Linked DNA regions of Homo sapiens: all the other regions are linked to region 4. Evidence: promoter capture Hi-C in 16 types of primary human blood cells and fetal thymus (Javierre and others, 2016). All regions are on one chromosome and are shown on one strand. Each heading gives the region's core, a stretch centred on a gene start or on the middle of the fragment in contact. The rest is flanking DNA. Distances are from core to core; before and after follow the strand shown.

The links. The method cuts DNA at HindIII sites, captures the fragments that hold promoters and counts their contacts. A CHiCAGO score of 5 or more calls a contact.
Region 1: a contact is called between a fragment that was not itself captured here and the fragment with the promoter of FAM3A in region 4, in 4 of 17 cell types (monocytes, neutrophils, total CD8 T cells and 1 more). The highest score is 11.1, in monocytes.
Region 2: a contact is called between a fragment that was not itself captured here and the fragment with the promoter of FAM3A in region 4, in 6 of 17 cell types (monocytes, activated CD4 T cells, naive B cells and 3 more). The highest score is 15.3, in monocytes.
Region 3: a fragment that was not itself captured here is called in contact with the fragment with the promoter of FAM3A in region 4 in 2 of 17 cell types (total CD8 T cells and naive CD4 T cells); the score reaches 5.4 in total CD8 T cells.
Region 5: a contact is called between a fragment that was not itself captured here and the fragment with the promoter of FAM3A in region 4, in 8 of 17 cell types (neutrophils, monocytes, non-activated CD4 T cells and 5 more). The highest score is 10.1, in neutrophils.
Region 6: a fragment that was not itself captured here is called in contact with the fragment with the promoter of FAM3A in region 4 in 2 of 17 cell types (monocytes and neutrophils); the score reaches 5.5 in monocytes.

The regions. Positions count from the first base shown.
Region 1 is chrX:154,034,255-154,037,058 of GRCh38, reverse strand. The region is part of intron 1 of MECP2 (methyl-CpG binding protein 2); the gene reads left to right. Among named protein-coding and RNA genes, the nearest start is that of MIR718, 16 kb to the right of the region's middle. RefSeq lists an enhancer at 590-1,155. The HindIII fragment of the contact is 6,646 bases long and covers 1-2,804 here.
Region 2 is chrX:154,119,508-154,122,411 of GRCh38, reverse strand. No RefSeq gene overlaps it. Among named protein-coding and RNA genes, the nearest start is that of MECP2, 23 kb to the right of the region's middle. The HindIII fragment of the contact is 175 bases long and covers 1,564-1,738 here.
Region 3 is chrX:154,083,685-154,086,555 of GRCh38, reverse strand. All of the region lies in intron 1 of MECP2 (methyl-CpG binding protein 2), which reads left to right. Among named protein-coding and RNA genes, the nearest start is that of MECP2, 13 kb to the left of the region's middle. The HindIII fragment of the contact is 4,984 bases long and covers 1-2,871 here.
Region 4 is chrX:154,514,946-154,517,645 of GRCh38, reverse strand. FAM3A (FAM3 metabolism regulating signaling molecule A) reads left to right here and starts at 1,414. Exons shown (of 9, transcript NM_021806.4): 1 at 1,414-1,886. The coding sequence starts at 1,874. It overlaps LOC124905229 (a long non-coding RNA gene), which reads right to left and starts at 2,166. Exons shown (of 2, transcript XR_007068357.1): 1 at 1,931-2,166. RefSeq lists silencers at 768-924, 1,140-1,549 and enhancers at 900-1,522, 1,523-2,146. The HindIII fragment of the contact is 19,151 bases long and covers 1-2,700 here.
Region 5 is chrX:154,052,272-154,054,971 of GRCh38, reverse strand. All of the region lies in intron 1 of MECP2 (methyl-CpG binding protein 2), which reads left to right. Among named protein-coding and RNA genes, the nearest start is that of MIR718, 34 kb to the right of the region's middle. The HindIII fragment of the contact is 7,842 bases long and covers 1-2,700 here.
Region 6 is chrX:154,103,103-154,105,802 of GRCh38, reverse strand. No RefSeq gene overlaps it. Among named protein-coding and RNA genes, the nearest start is that of MECP2, 6.7 kb to the right of the region's middle. The HindIII fragment of the contact is 9,158 bases long and covers 1-2,700 here.

The DNA.
Region 1 (2,804 bases), core at 134-2,633, 480 kb after region 4:
AACTTCCTAGGCTCAAGTGATCCTCCTGCCTCAGCCTCCCGAGTAGCTAGGATTACAGGCACACACCACCATGCCCAGCTAATTTTTTTTTTTTTTTTTTTTTTTTGTAGAGACAGGGTTTTGCTATGTTGCCCAGGCTGGTCTCAAACTCCTGAGCTCAAGCGATCCACCTGCCTCACCTCCCAAAGTGCTGGGATTACAAGTGTAAGCCACCACACCTGACCTGTTTTGTATATTTTACCACAATAAAAAGCCTTTAAAACCCCAAGCAGACAGTTCATTTTCATTCAGGCCCAACTCAGAATCTGATCACAGCGGGGTTTCCCCCCTTTCTAGCGAGTAGCTGAAGAACTGTTTTCTCTCCTTGATGGTATAACTGTCTCTGTGGGTGTTGCTCCCCTGCCGCTCCAGTGGTTTTGTTTTTGTTTTTGTTTTTTTGAGACGGAGTCTTGCGATCTCAGCTCACTGCGACCTCTGCCTCCTGGGTTCAGGCGATTCTTCTCCCTCAGCCTTCCATGTAGCTGGGACTTACAGGCACCTGCCACCACGCCCGGCTCATTTTTGTATTTTTAGTAGAGACGGAGTTTCACCATGTTGGCCAGGTTGGGCTCGAACTCCAGACCTCAGGTGATCCACCTGCCTCAGCCTCCCACAGTGCTGGGATTACAGGTGAGAGCCACTGCACCCAGCCGGCCCCTCAGTCTTTTCCTTCTCAATCAGTGGCACCACCATCTTCCCAGGCTTTGGACATGGTCCCTGACTCACCCTTGCCCCTCACCCCCACACTAATCCACCTGCGAGCTCTGTTGCTTCACCACCTAGACCAGCCCCAAATCCTCAACTGCCCCCACCCTGGGCCACACCTGGACCACTGCTAGAGGCCTCTCATGGGCCCTCCCTGTTTTTCTCTTGCACTCCCCGGGCTTTCTGGCACAAGATGCCCCAGAAGCAGAATCACATATCTCTCCTGGGAGCCAATCTAGTGTGTTTACTGCCCCTGGAGTGTTATTGTTGGCCTTAGAATATGTCCCACTACAGGTTTGCAGAGCACTGTAGTCAAAAGTCATTTGAAATAAATCTTTTCTCTGTGGTATATTGTCAATTTGATATAGAATTAAATTTGTTTCTTTTCTTTTTTCTTTTCTTTTTTTTTTTTTTTAAGAGACAGGGTCTTGGCCAGGCGTGGTGTCTCATGCCTGTAATCCCGGCACTTTGGGAAGCCAAGGTGGGTGGATCGCCTGAGGTCAGGAATTCAAGACCAACCTGGCCAGCATGGTGAAACCCCGTCTCTGCTAAAAATACAAAAATTAGCCGGGCGTGATGGCAGGTACCTGTAATCCCAGCTACTCGGGAAGCTGAGGCAGGAGAAGGCTTGAACTCAGGAGTCGGAGGTTGCAGTGAGCCAAGATCACGCCATGGCACTCTAGCAAGACTCTGTCTCAAAAAAAAAAAAAGAGAGAGAGAGAGACAGGGTCTTGCTCTGTCACTCAGGCTGGAGTGCAGTGATGTAGTCATGGCTCACTGCAGCCTCATACTCCTGACCTCAGGTGATCGACCCGCCTCGGCCTCCCAAAGTGCTGGGATCGTAGGCTGAAGCCACCATGCCTGGCCCGAACTCATTTGTTTTTATTTGCATTAAGTGTAATAAGGTTTTGTTACTTTTAGTTTGAATTTTATTTTGGGTAATATAAACATTTACATGATTCAGAAGTCAGAATTACACTGAGGCATGTTCAGCTAGGCCTCACTCCTGTGCCTGTACCCTTACCTTTTTCCCCCTACCCCATGCAGGGAATCAATTTCATTAGTTCCTGGTGTGTCCTTCCTTAATACCCCCCCTTCTTTCTTTGGTAGAATGCAGTAGATATGTTTGCGCTTTGCTCCCTTTGCTTCACAGTGGATCCTGGAAATGACTCCATCGCAGTTCTTAGAGCTCTTGTTTAGTCCCTTTGGATCTGCACAGTACTCCAGTGTGTGGGCGCACCATAAGTTTATTCAGCAAGTGCCCTGGTGATAGGGATCGGGGGTATTGGAAGCCTTTGGCTGGTAAAAATAATGTTGTAGCAAATAACATCATGCATATGTTCTTTGAGATTTCTGGAGGTGTCTCTTTAGCATAGATTTCTAGAAGGCATTCCTTACGTCACGTTTAGGTTTATAGTTTGACCTCATGGTGATTAAGGTATTTGGGAAATGCAAATGAGAGTTTCGAAGAAGCCAGATCTTTCCCATTAGTTCACTGTTTTTCTCTGACATTAGGACCGTCCGGGTTCTAGGGAGCAGCCCTGGCGTTAGGCAGTGCCATGATGGATTGTGTAGAAGTAGCGATTCCCATCTGTCTGCTTTCTTGGCCCACTCTGCTGGTGGCTCCCCTTCCCTCCCTCCTTTATGGGGAGCTGGGGAGCTGCCTAGGGGTCCATTCTCAAAGGCTGATCTCTGGTGGGCAACAGGCCACACCTAGCTTTCCAGGGTTCTTCGTCATTTCCCATTGAGAGCTGTAAGACTCAGAGACATGAAAAGGAAGCTCTGGCTGGGCACGGTGGCTCACGCCTGTAATCCCAGCACTTTGGGAGGCTGAGGCGGGTCGATCACCTGAGGTCAGGAGTTCGAGACCAGCCTGCCCAACATGGTGAAACCCCGTCTCCACTAAACATACAAAAATTAGCCTGGCGTGGTAGCACACGCCTGTGATCCCAGCTACTCCGGAGGCTGAGGCAGGAGAATAACTTGAACCCGGCAGGCGGAGGTTGCGATGAGCCGATATTATGCCATCGGCAACAGAGCGAGACTCCATCTCAAAAAAA
Region 2 (2,904 bases), core at 402-2,901, 400 kb after region 4:
GGACCAGCCTCAAGGAGTTCAAGTAGAGGTCAGTCTCATGGGGGCCAGACAGGCCGAGCTGGCCACCACTCACTCGCTTCCCTCCCAGTACAAGACTCAGACCCGCATGACCATGATTGAGATGTCTCGGGTGCCCTCGAGCCACCCCCCCCAGGAGCCAAATTCTTCCCAAGAGTCCATTATCCCGGGGACAGCTGTCTTGTGATCCTGTTCCCTGGAGAACACAGGCACGGAACAAGCCCTGATCCCCTTCGGTGACGACTCAGTAGTGTGCACAGCCAGGAAACCACAGAAGACAGGCAGAACCAGTTCTCCAGCTGTAGCTACAAGTTAACTATAAAAAGACCCCTGGGTCCACAGGGCAGGGCTACTCGGCTGGCTCTGGCCCAGGCTCTTGGGCACAATTCTGGCCACAGACGGGAAGCACAGAGAAGATAACCAATGGTGTCACAAACAGGTTTTCCAAGATTTCAATCTGGGAGACAGGACACTTCATCCAGGCTTCCGGTTTCAAAATTGGAAGACAAATGTCCTAAGGGGTCTTGTCAGTTTTGTATACTGGCACACAGCCATGATTTACAGAAACAGGACTTTTGGTCTCTCACCCTGGAAGACAAGAGGAACTAATCAAAATGGGCCAAAGGACCAGAAACTTCCAGTGGACATCACACTTGGACAGATGAGAGCTTAGAAAGCAGCTCAATTGCTGTGACCAAAGTTCGGCTCCCCCCTCAGTGACAGTCCTCCTGGGAAGGAAGGTAAGAGACTCAAGGAGCCTCTGGGGTCCTGCTGGGACTTCCCAGGCCAGGGCTGTGCTCCAGTGGCAGCTATCCTGAGGCCAGGGACATTGAGGGGAACCTCTAAACAATGGAAACAGCCAAAGAGATGATGAGCGTAGGTCCAAGTGCAGCCAGGCAGCCTGAAAAGAGAAAGGGAAGGTGGAGTTCTCAGGGACAGGCTTCAGAGGAAGAGGAGGGTTTAAATGAGTCTCTTCAGTAGGGCCAAAGCAAGTTCATTTCCCAAGGGCTAAAAGTCTGCCATGTTTTTATGAGTTGTTTGGGTTAAACCTGGGTCATGTTGACCTAGATACATCTCCAAGAAACACCAGATATGGGAATCTTAATAAGAAAGAATGAGCAACATGGTTGTGATCTTCCAACAGAAATACAGTGCAAGAGGCCGGGTGCGGTGGCTCACGCTTGTAATCCCAGCACTTTGGGAGGCCGAGGCGGGTGGATCATGAGGTCAGGAGTTCAAGACCAGCTTGGCCAACATGGTGAAACCCTGTCTCTACTAAAAATACAAAAATTAGCCGGGCGTGATGGTGGGCGCCTGTAATCCTAGCTACTTGGGAGGCTGAGGCAGAGAACTGCTTGAACCCAGGAGGCGGAGGTTGCAGTGAGCCAAGATCGCACCACTGCTCTCCAGCCTGGGCGACAGAGCGAGACTCCATCTCCCCTTCCCCCCTCCCCCTAAAAAAGAAATACAGTGCAAGAAAGTCCAGTTTTTTTCTCATAACAATGTTCTGCTTAAGTTTGGAGAAAATATGCATTTTCTTAAGCTTGAAATAAAGTTTGGCTACTTTTGGATGGGGTCTTTGTGTCATTCCTACGTCAGACACCAATCTATACTGTTGCCAGGAGGATGGCGACATGATTGATGGGAAAAGGAAAAACTTCACACAGGTGACTCCTTAGAGCAGGGAGCAAAGCAGTGACGCCTGTCAGAGGCAGAAGCTTCCCTGGCAGGACTAATGACATTTACAGTCCTCATTGAGAGAAACAAGAGAAAAGGCACATGGAAACTATACTATGAATGGAAAATGGCTATAACCACAGATGCAGACAGGATTTTAAAGTAATGGCTATTGTGAATAACTTTGTGCCAATACATTTGAAAATACAGTTGAAATGAACAAAGTCCTAGAAAAAGAAATTACCAGTATTGACTCAAGAAAAAGCAAAGACCCTAAATAGTCATATAATTATAAATTTTTTGTTAGTAATAAAATATCTTCCGTTCAAACCAAACTCTAGGCCTAGATGACTTCATCAGCAAGATCTATCAAATATTCAAGAAGCAATAGTTCTAATTTTACACAAACTCTTTCAGAGAATTAAGAAAAAGAGGCTCCACTCTTGTTAGAAGGCAAACATAACCTTGAAACCAAAACCTGTCAAGGACATTATGAGAAAGAAAATTATAAGCCAACTTCACTTGTAGGCAGAGATTCAGAAATCCCAAACAGAATACTAGCAATATGTAAAAAAGATAATACATGGTGACTGGACTGGGCACGGTGGCTCACGCCTGTAATCCCAGCACTTTGGGAGGCTGAGGCGGGTGGATCACCTGAGGTCAGGAGTTCAAGACCAGCCTGGCCAACATGGCGAAATCCAGTCTCTACTAAAAATACAAAAAATTAGCTGGGCCTGGTGGCGTGCACCTATAATCCCAGCTACTCGGGAGGGTCAGGCAGGAGAATCGTTTGAACCCAGGAGGTGGAGGTTGCAGTGAGCCGAGATTGTGCCACTGCACTCCAGCCTGGGAGACAGAGCGAGATGCTGTCTCAAAAAAAACCAAACAAAAGGAAAAAAAAAGATAATACATGGTGACCAAGATGTGTTTATCTCAGGAGTGCAAAGTTAGTTTAATAATATAAAATCATTTATTGTAATTAACCAAATTAATGTTAAAGAAGAAAAATTACATGATCAGCAGGGCATGGTGGCTCATGTCAGTAAGCCTAGCACTTTGGGAGGCTAAGGCAGGCAGATTGCTTGAACTCAGGAGTTTGAGACCAGCCTGGTTAACATGGTGAAACCTCATCTCTACAAATAATAGACACACACACACACACACACACACACACACACACACACACACACAAATTGCCGGTGGTGG
Region 3 (2,871 bases), core at 35-2,534, 430 kb after region 4:
GGCACGGTGGCTCACGCCTGTAATCCTAGCACTTTGGGAGGTGGAGGTGGGTGGATCATGAGGTCAAGAGATCGAGACCATCTTGGCCAACATGGTAAAACCCCATCTCTACTAAAAATACAAAAAATTAGCCGGGCATGGTGGCGGGCACCTGTAGTCCCAGCTACTCGGGAGGCTGAGGCAGGAGAATCGCTTGAACCTGGGAGGCAGAGGTTGCAGTGAACTGAGATCACGCCGCTGCACTCCAGCCTGGCAACAGAATGAGACTCCATCTCAAAAAAAAAAGCGTGTGTGTACCCGTGTGTTAAATTTTTATTATAAAATATATATAACAGGCTGGGCGTGGTGGCTCACGCCTGTAATCCCAGCACTTTGGGAGGCCGAGGCAGGCTGATCACGAGGTCAGGAGATCGAGACCATCCTGGCGAGCACGGTGAAACCTCGTCTTTACTAAAAATACAAAAAATTAGCCGGGCATGGTGGCGGGCGCCTGTAGTCCCAGCTACTCTGAGAGCCTGAGGCAGGAGAATGGCGTGAACCCAGGAGGCGGAGCTTGCAGTGAGCCGAGATCGCGTCACTGCACTCCAGCCTGGGCGACAGACCGAGACTCCGTCTCAAAAAATATATATCGATATATATAACAATTTACAGTTTTAATCATCTTAACTGTACAGTTCAGTGGCACTGAGTACATTCACATTGTTGTACAGCCATTACTACCATCCATCTCTACAACCTTTCGTCTTGCAAAACTGAAATTTCATACCTATTAAACACTAACTCCCACTTCTCCCCTTTCCCCCACCCCACCCTCTGGCAACTACTATTCTACTCTTTGTCTCTATTGGACATATTTTTGTGTGTTTAGGTTTGTGTATATATTTTACATGTGTGTATAAATACACAAGGGTATGTGGGCGTTGTGTTTTTACACATACTATAAAATATTGTGCACATTTGTTTATTTTAATGTATCCTGTAGATTATTTAGAATCGGTTCATACAGAGCCGTATCATTCCTTTTAAGGGTTGGGTTTAAATAGTCTGTTATGGATGTACCACAATTTATTTAACCAGTTTTTAAATTTTTTACTTATTTTTTTTAATGTTTTTTTAGAGACAGGATCCCACTCCATCACCCAGACTGGAGTGCAACAGCATGATCATAGCTTACTGCAGCCTTGAACTCCGGGGCTGATGTGATCCTCCCACCTCAGGCTCTCTTGTAGCTGGGACTACAGGGATGTGCCGCCATGCCTGGCTAAATTTTTTATTTTTATTTTTATTTTTATTTTTGGTAGACACGGGGTTTCACTGTGTTGCCCAGGCTGGTCTTGAACTCCTTGGGCTTGAGTAATCCTCCTGCCTTGGCCTCCCAAAGTGCCGAGATTACAACCATGAGCCATGGAGCCCGACAAGAGTAGCCTTTTATTTGCAGACCATTAGAGAAAAAGTTGCGTGTAAGTAGATAAGCATACGAATTTATCACTGCAATACTGTTTGTAGAGATCACAGAGCTGTTAGGCTAGGAAGAAGTTTTTAGCAGTTAGCACTAGAAAGCAAAACTTTGGAAACTTCCATTTCATCAAAAGTGACCTCATCTGAGTAGGGCATGTGAGGGAAGGACCTTTTTACTCGACAAGGGGAACTTGCCCAGTTCTTGTTTGTGAACCTTGAAGAAAGTGGAGCATTTTTATTTTGGGACCATTCTAGGTTGTGGTAGTTCCTTGGTACTCGGGGTTGGAGAATCTCCCTCTGCTGCTGGACCTTCTGCCTCCTCATGCTGTAATATGCATAAGAGGTGTCCTAGAAGTATTCAGGAACAGGCTGTGGTTGCTTTGTTGTTCTGTGACTGTTGAACTCTTTATATAGCAGTACTTTTTTAAGCTGTACTAATTGAGCATTTATTATGTGTCAGTTACTGTGCTAGCTGCTGGAAACTATCCTACCCTCAGCAGTCTTCTGGTCTAATGGGAGGTACAGACAGGCAAATGGGCTATGACTTTACAAGAGGCTAACTTCTGTGATGGAGAGAAGTTCCAGCCACTAAGGGAGCACATAAAAATCAGAGGAGATCCTACCAAGAATTGGGAGGTAGGTCAGGGAGGAGACTTCTTTGAAAAATGGCATCTAAGACCTGAACAGCAAGGAAACATTAGCTAGGTCAAGGACAAAGCATCAGTGGGGAGAGATGCATGAGTCTTTTGGAAGGACCAGCATGTGTAGAGGCTCTGACAGGAGAGAATCTCTCAGGCCCATTCAGAGAGTCCACTGTGTGAAGACGAGGCATGAACAACCAGCCAGGACATGTGGAGAGGAGCATTTTTCTTTTTTTCTTTTTTCTTTCTTTTTTTTTTTTTTTTTTTTTGAGACGTCTTTCTCTGTCACCCAGGCTGGAGTGCAATGGCATGATCTCGGCTCACTGCAACCCCCACTTCCAGGGTTCAAGCAATTCTTCTGCCTTAGCCTCCCAAGCAGCTAGGATTACAGGCACCCGCCACCATGCCCGGTTAATTTTTGTATTTTTAGTAGAGACGGAGTTTCACCATGTTGGCCTCAAACTCCTGACCTTAGGTGATCTACCCGTCTCGGCCTCCCAGAGTGCTGGGATTACAGGTGAGAGCCCCCACGCCCGGCCAGGCTCGGCTTTCTTTCCAGGCCCCGTCACACTCTTAGATGTTCCCTGGGCCCCAGAAGGCAGCGTGAGGTGCTCTGCCCATCTATGCTGTCCTTTTCCACCCCACCCTATCCACTGGGCCCCTGGGGCTCCCACTCCACTCCAGGTCTCTTCATGGACCCTTCTTTCCCTTCACTTCTGTCCCAGGAGACCTGGGAGACTCATGGGAACAGGCATCATCTTCTCCAGCACAG
Region 4 (2,700 bases), core at 165-2,664:
CAGGCAGCTGAAAGGGACCTTGACCCTGTTGAGTACTCCAGTATAGAAGCTGCTGGATTCTAACCAGGGCTCTCCCATGCCCGGCTCTATAAACTTTCTCTATATTTTGCATTGTTTCCCTAAGGGTAGGAGATTCCCGTAAGTTGGGTCAAAGGGCAGGGAGGTTTCCGTGGTTCTCATTGGGCCCTGCTGCTGCTCTCCAGACAGATGATGGATCAGCTGTCAGGGTGGCCCCGGCCATGCCAGCGCAGTAGGTGGTCAGGGCGCACTTGGGGCAGCCGGCAGGGCAGAAGGGACGGGAGCTTGACCCGTGTTCTCATGGGCAGAGGGAGCCCGGGCAGTGTTGGGGGCAGCGTGCGGGCAGGCGCGGAGGGGAGATAGCCAGGCAGTCAGGGAGAATTGGGGTGACTGGAGAAAGGCCGAAGGGCCGCGTCTGCCTGCGGCCGGAGACCACCCCAGGTCCATACAGCCAGCTGGGTGCCGGGCACCATTTGGAGCCGCTGGGAAAGCCAAGCACCGCTCTTTCTGGAGCCTTCTTTTTTCCTATTGTTAGGGAATTCACGACGTCACACTTGTTTTCAAGTGAAAATAAGAGTTGTGTAGGACGCGAAAGTCACGTGACTTGAAAGCTGAACCTGAGAGGCCTCAAAATAAATTCTGGTTTGCTGTGAAAGCCTCGGGTTATAGCGCTAAACTCCCCCCTCCACTGCCCCCGAAAGTTGTATTCTCCTCTGCTTTTAGGGTGGGGTGTGGCGTAAACAACACAGCTTGAGCAGCTCTGAGGAGGAGGGTGTTAGAGACCAGGCAGGCGGAGCAGGCAAGAGTTTTCAAGGATGTCGAAATAGTTTGAGACGCCCCGTCCCATTATAAAAGTGATAACGAGAGACAGCAGGAACGCGCTTCTGGACAGAAAACAGACCCTAAGGAAAGGCAGCCAGAGGCTCACGCTGGATCCTGCGGTCTTCCCTATCTGCGCCTCTGTACCTCCCTTGCCTTTACAAAGCGCATGGATCAACTTTGGAACAGGTTCTAATTCTGCCCCAGATCCATCTGCGTCTTCCCACGACTCACAAATCTGACCTCAGGGTGCAAGCGCAGCCCCAGCCCTCTAAGCCTGGGTAGGCAGGGCTCTCCCACCCGAGAAAGGGCCGAGGGGAGACTTCCGGGGCGGGACCGACGTGGGCCCCTCCCACTCGGCGGCCGGTGGGTTCAGCCTGAACGCACTGCGGAGGTGGGGCCGACGAGGGATCCAGGGGCGGGACAGGTTCGGGGCGGGACAGGTTCAGGCCCCTCCCATGCGGCGGCCAGCGCGAGCGGTAGAGGCGGGTCTGGAGGCGGGGCCTGCGTGGAGCCAGACGGCGCAGCTGCTGCCGGGGGCGGGGCCGGCGGGCTGTGGCCCCGCCCTTAGCCGCCATTGCCGGGCCTGCCTGGCCACCCTGCGCAGCGGCCTTGCGTCCTCTCCCGGGGCGGAGCGGGTCGGCGGGCCTGACAGGGAACCTCCCTGACCGAGCCCACGTCTCCCCACGGCCAGAGAAATCTCCGGCCCGGCCCGCATCGCCAGCCCCCAGGCCCGGAGGAACGGCCCGAGCCCAGGAGAACCACATCTTCGTCCCAGCCCCGGAGGCTCCTGTGGGCAAGATCGTGAGCCAACGGGTTCCTGAGGCCCCTCCTGGCCAGGCAGGGTTTCCCCGCGCGTTTCCGAGGAGCCCTGCCTGGCCGGGCGGCTGGACAAACAGGTCGTAGCACCGATCGCGCCCGCCCCCAGCAGGGGTCCCGCACAGGCTTGCCCCTGACCCCCACCCAAACCTGTCCTTCCGCTTTGCCCCCAAACAGTGCACTTGCCGGCGGTCCCAACCCAGCAGGAGAAGTGGACATGAGGTTGGCAGGTGGGTGGCTTCCACAGCGAACGGGAGGGAGTTGAAAAGGGCACCTGGCTGGAGGCCCAGCGTCGCGACATCTGTGTCTGGAGAGGCCCGGGTGAACCACTGGGTTTGGTTTTGGAAATGGAGGACTCTGCACAAACACTCGTTCCTTGACCTTAACCAAATCCTTTCACCTCTGAGGACGTCAGCTCCCCGAGCTATGACATGAGGATTAGTATAGTCAGTATCTCCCAACGCAGGTAGCAGACCAGCTGCTTTTTGGAAAATGAGTGGTGAGAGAGAGGAGGTGGGCAGTCCAGGTGGAGAGGCGTGGTCTTAGAGGGGAAGTGACAAAAGTGGCTGTGGGCTTCGACATGAACCCGATGACAGCCCTACTGTCACCTGGACAAGTAAGATGAAGATCCTTGGGGAGGGATAGGTTGGGGCTGGGTGGAGAGTAGAAACAACTCGGGAATTGGACTTCAGACTTGCTAAGGTGGTAACTTTGTGGACATATCCAGGTGGAGCTGGCCACTGAGGAACCAGCTGGCAGGGAGTGGTTTCAAGAGAGGCCACGGCTGGAACTAGAAAATAGAAAGTCATTGACACATGGTGCTTAATTAAAGAGCTAGGAGTAGATGACATCATCTAAAAACACACTACAGGCCGGGCGCGGTGGCTCACGCCTGTAATCCTAGCACTTTGGGAGGCCGAGGTGGGAGGATCACTTGAAGTCAGGAGTTCGAGACCAGCCTGGCCAACATGGTGAATCCTCATCTCTACTAAAAAAATACAAAAAAATGAGCCTGGCGTGGTGGCGGGTGCCTGTAATCCCAGC
Region 5 (2,700 bases), core at 164-2,663, 460 kb after region 4:
TGGAGTGCAGTGGTGCAATCTCAGCTCACTGCAACCTCCGCCTCCTGGGCTCAAGTGGTCCTCCCACCTCAGCCTCCTGAGTAGCTGGGATTACAGGCTTGCACCAGCGCGCCTGGCTAAGTTTTTGTATTTTTAGTAGAGACAGGGTTTTGCCATGTTGCCCAGACTGGTCTCAAACTCCTGGGCTCAAGCAGTTCACCAGCCTTGGCCTCTAAAAGTGTTGGGATTACAGGTGTGAGCCACCACGCCCGGCCATCCCAGTTTTTTATTTTCCTCCTTTCTGTGTCTTTATGCATCAGTGAGGTGGAGCTTTTGAAAATGTCAGATAGCTAGATTTTTTTTTTTTGAGACGGAGTTTTGCTCTTGTTGCCCAGGCTGGAGTGCAATGGCGTGATCTCGGCTCACTGCAACCTCCACCTCCCAGGTTCAAAACAATTCTCCTGCCGCAGCCTCCTGAGTAGCTGGGACTACAGGCACGTGCCACCACACCCGGCTAATTTTGTATTTTTAGTAGAGATGTGGTTTCACCATGTTGGCCAGGCTGGTCTCAAACTCCTCACCTCAGCTGATCACCCGCCTCAGCCTCCCAAAGTGTTGGAATTACAGACGTGAGCCACCATGCCCAGCTGATAGCTAGATTTTTTTTTTTTTTTTTTTTTTGAGACGGAGTCTTGCTCTGTCGCCCAGGCTGGAGTGCGGTGGCGCGATCTCGGCTCACTGCAAGCTCCGCCCCCCGGGTTCATGCCATTCTCCTGCTTCAGCCTCCAGAGTAGCTGGGACTACAGGTGCCCGCCACCACGCGTGGCTGATTTTTTTTTTTTTTTTTTTTTTGTATTTTTAGTAGAGACGGGGTTTCACCGTGTCAGCCAGGATGGTCTCGATCTCCTGACCTCGTGATCCGCCCGCCTCAGCCTCCCAAAGTGCTGGGATTACAGGCGTGAGCCACCGCACCCGGCCTCGAGATTTTTTAAAAAATCCATTGTCTGTTTCGTCCTTTAACATCTATTTGATTTCTGATGTATTTAGATTCATTTATAGCATATTTGTGCATTCTATTTTTCCATATTTTCTGTTCTTTTAAATTTTCCTTCTCCTTTCTTGCCTTCTCTTAGACTTTTAAAAAAATTGTAGTAAAATACACATCACCTAAAATTTACCATTTTTAAATGTACAGTTCAGTGGCATTAAATACAAATTGGAGGCCAGGCATGGTGGCTCATGCCTGGAATCCCAGCACTTTGAGAGGCTGAGGTGGGAGGATTGCTTGAACCTGGAGGTCGAGGTTGCAGTGAGGTGTGATCACACTACTGCTATAGCCCAGGCAACAGAGTGAGAACCTATCTAAAAAAACAAACAAACAAACAAACAAACAGATTGGCATCACACAGTGTGTGTGCTGCTGTGCTGTGCTGTTATCATTTAACATTAAAACATAAACATCAGCACTGTTATGGACTGAATGTTTGTGTCCCCCAAAATTCCAGTGTTGAAGCTCAAACCTCCAATGTGATGTTATTTGGAGATGGGGTATTTGAGAGGTGGTTAGGTTTAGATGAAATCAGGAGGGAGGGTGGGTTTCGCATGATGAGATTAGTGTCCTTATAACAAGAGACAGCAGAGAGCTTGCTTTCTCCACCATGTGAGTATGCAATGAGAAGGCAGCCATCTCCAAGTCAGAAAGAGAGCCCTCACCAGGGGCTGAATGTGCTGACACCTTGATCTTGGACTTCTAGCCTCCAGAACTGTGAGAAATTTCAGTTGAATAGGCCCCCCAGTCTGTACTATTTTGTTATAGCTTGAGCAGACTAATACACCCATGTTATGAAAAGCTATAAACATCCCTTTAAAGGCCACCTAACGCGTCGTATTACCTCATGCATCTTCTCTGCTGAGCTTTCCAAAAGAGTGGCTTAGGCTGGGCCTGGTGGCTCATGCCTGTAATCCCAGCACTTTGGGAGGCCAAGGCAGGTGGATCACCTGAGGTCAGGAGTTCAAGACCAGCCTGACCAACATGGAGAAATCCCGTCCCTACTAAAAATACAAAATTAGCTGGGCGTGGTGGCGCATGCCTGTAATCCCAGCTACTTGGGAGGCTGAGCCAGGAGAATCACTTGAACCTGGGAGATGGAGGGTGCAGTGAGCCGAGATCGTGCCATTGCATTCCAGCCCGGCCAACAAGAGCGAAACTCCATCTCAAAAAAAAAGAGTGGCTGGCCGGGCGCAGTGGCTCACGCCTGTAATCCCCGCACTGTGGGAGGCCGAGGTGGGTGGATCACGAGGTCAGGAGTTCAAAACCAGCCTGGCCGAGATGGTGAAACCCCGTCTCTACTAAAAATAGAAAAACTAGCCAGGCGCAGTGGCAGGCGCCTGTAATCCCAGCTACTTGGGTGGCTGAGGCAGGAGAATCGCTTGAACCTGGGGGGCGGAGGTTGCAGTGAGCCAAGATGGTGCCACTGCACTCCAGCCTGGGTGACACAGTGAGACCCCGTCTCAAAAAAAAAAAAAAAAAAAAAAAAAGTGGCGTATGTTCCCGGTCTCCACCTCTCATTCGCCAGCCCCTGTGACCAAACCCCTGGGATTAGATCTCCATCGGGTCCCTCCCCTCACCCTAACCTCACATGCAGTGGTTCCTGAGAAGCTGCTGTTTATCTGATCACGGGATCCAGCAGGATCTGAGGGCTCATTCACTGAATCTGTACT
Region 6 (2,700 bases), core at 133-2,632, 410 kb after region 4:
TTTCTTTTAGTTCTGTAGATATGTTAATTAAATTAAATTTTTTGATACATTCCCTGAATTTTCTTGAATTCCAAGTTTATATTTTTTCTACAGGTTTATCTTGACTCTTTTTCCTGTTGAAGGCTTTCATCAAATTTCTGATAATATTTACTGACTGGTTTATATTTAATAAGGAAGGACTGGATAAGTATTGTGGATTTAATCTGCTGTTGGGCAAATAGGTCTGTTTTCCTGCTGTGACTCTTCTCTGTGTAGGACAGGGAGGTGACGAACAGAGTATCCCCTAGATGCCGGAATGAGGAAACAATTGTTCAGGGGTTGTCAGCATCCATGCTGGAAGCCTTAGCTCTCCACCGACATTTCAATCAATTTCTTTACAGAACTGTCAGGTGTTTTCCCTGTAGGTCTGTGCCAGCTCCCAGCTCAGCTGTCTGGTGGGGAGAGGAGGTTCCAACTGGTACAGTCATTCTGTACTGGTGCCTTCAATTAATCCCCATGTGTTCAGTCCTATTTAATTCTATCGTTTTCTACCACATGCCTACTGATTCTGATTGTCTGGTGTTATATCTAGCAAACTCACTCCCACTTCTTCTGTGGCTCCCTTGTCAAATATTCTCACCTGGATTTTTACTGCCTATTTTATTCATCAATCAATTCCCATATGCTTTCTATAAAGTTGTTGTCCTTTGATGATAACCTCTCATCCTCACCACATTCTCTTCACTCTGGTGGGTTTATTCCTTTCCTTTTTTTTTTTTTTTCAGACGGAGTCTTGCTCTGTCACCCAGGCTGGAGTGCAATGGCACGATCTCGGCTCACTGCAACCTCTGCCTCCTGGGTTCAAGCGATTCTCCTGCCTCGGCCTCCCAAGTAGCTGGGATTACAGGTGCGTGCCACCAGGCCTGGCTAATTGTTTGTATTTTTAGCAGAGGCAGGGTTTCACCATGTTGGCCAAGCTGGTCTCGAACTCCTGACCTCAAGCAATTCACCCTCCTTGGCTTCCCAAAGTGCTGGGATTACAGGCATGAGCCACCACACCCTGCCTCCTTTCTGTTTCTTGACATTCTTCTTTTAGTGCACTTCTATGAGTAAAGAAGGAAAACTGTGTGTGTGTGTGTGTGTCTGTGTCTGTGTGTCTGTGTGTGTGTCTGTGTGTCTGTGTATGTGACTGTGTGTGTGTGTCTGTGTGTCTGGGTGTGTGTGTGTTCATGCACATCTGTGCCTGCTCATGGTGTCTTATATCAGAATTTATTCATTTCTTATCTATTTTCTAACAAATATGGTTAAGGCTATTAATTTTTCTAGGTGACCTCTGTAGCCTTATCTCCTAGGTTTTAATATGTAGGGCTCTCAATGTTGGTCATTTCTTTTGTTTTTAGAGACAGGGGCTTGCTCTTTCTCCCAGGCTGGAGTGCAGTGGCATGATCCCACCTCAGCCTGTTGAGTAGCTAGGACTACAGGTGCGCACGTGCCCAGCTAATTTATTTCATTTTTGGGAAAAACGGGGTCTCACTTTGTTGCCCAGGCTGATCTCGAACTCCTGGGCTCAAGCGATCCTCCTGCCTTGGCCTCCCAAAGTGCTGGGATTACAGGCATGAGCCAGCGCCCCTGGCCTGGATTAGCTCTTCTGAAATATATATATTCTCTATCAGTTTAAGAGATTTTTAGACAAATGGAGTAAAAGTTTGTGTTGTTTGTCATATTGATAAAATCCTTCTGGTTGTGGGCTTTCTGTCAATTACCATCTATACTAGATTTTCCTGGTTTTTATCTTCTACAGTCCTGTTTTTAAGAGGACCTTAAACTATTACAGTCCCATTTTTTAAATTACTGATTTTTAATTCTAATAGTAAATAATTTTGATTATAGTATATTTTTCTTTTTTTTCTTTTTTTTGAGATGGAGTCTTGCTCTGTTACCCGGGCTGGAGTGCAGTGGCACGATCTCGGCTCACTGCAAGCTCCGCCTCCTGGGTTCACCCCATTCTCCTGCCTCATCCTCCCAAGTAGCTGGGACTACAGGCGCCCACCACCACACCCGGCTAATTTTTTGTATTTTTAGTAGAGACGGGGTTTCACCTTGTTAGCCAGAATGGTCTCGATCTCCTGACCTCGTGATCTGCCCGCCTCGGCCTCTCAAAGTGCTGGGATTACAGACGTGAGCCACCATGCCCAGCCGATTATAGTATATTTTTCTACTTTTCAATGGCAAGTGTGAAACTGTATAACTTAAGTTCCTTCTATTCAACCTAAGGAATTTAGCAAGATTCTCTTCATTATTTTTTAATATTTCAAAAACTTCTTGAGTTCTAGTCTTGTACATTATTCTTTCCAATCTAGATTTAAGTTGTTATAGCCCATGAAACTTCTTGACTTTTGATTGAGCAAAGAATTTCCAGAGTTATTGATGAAGAATTAACATTTCTATAATGTTAATGCTTCCCCTCCAGGAATACGGTAGCGTCTGTTTTTGTTTTTGTTTTCTTCAGGTCTTCTTTTAGATTTTTCAGTAAAGTTTTATAGCTTTTTGATGCAGGTTTTGACATTTCTTATTAAGTTTATTCCCAGCTGTTTTATAATTTTTGTAGTGAGAGTGAGTTGAATCTTTTTTCCCTCATTACATTTTCCAGCTTTTTATTACTGGTCGTGTTTACATGCCTGCATCCTAACACCGGGGAACTGACTTGAAATGGGCCTTTCT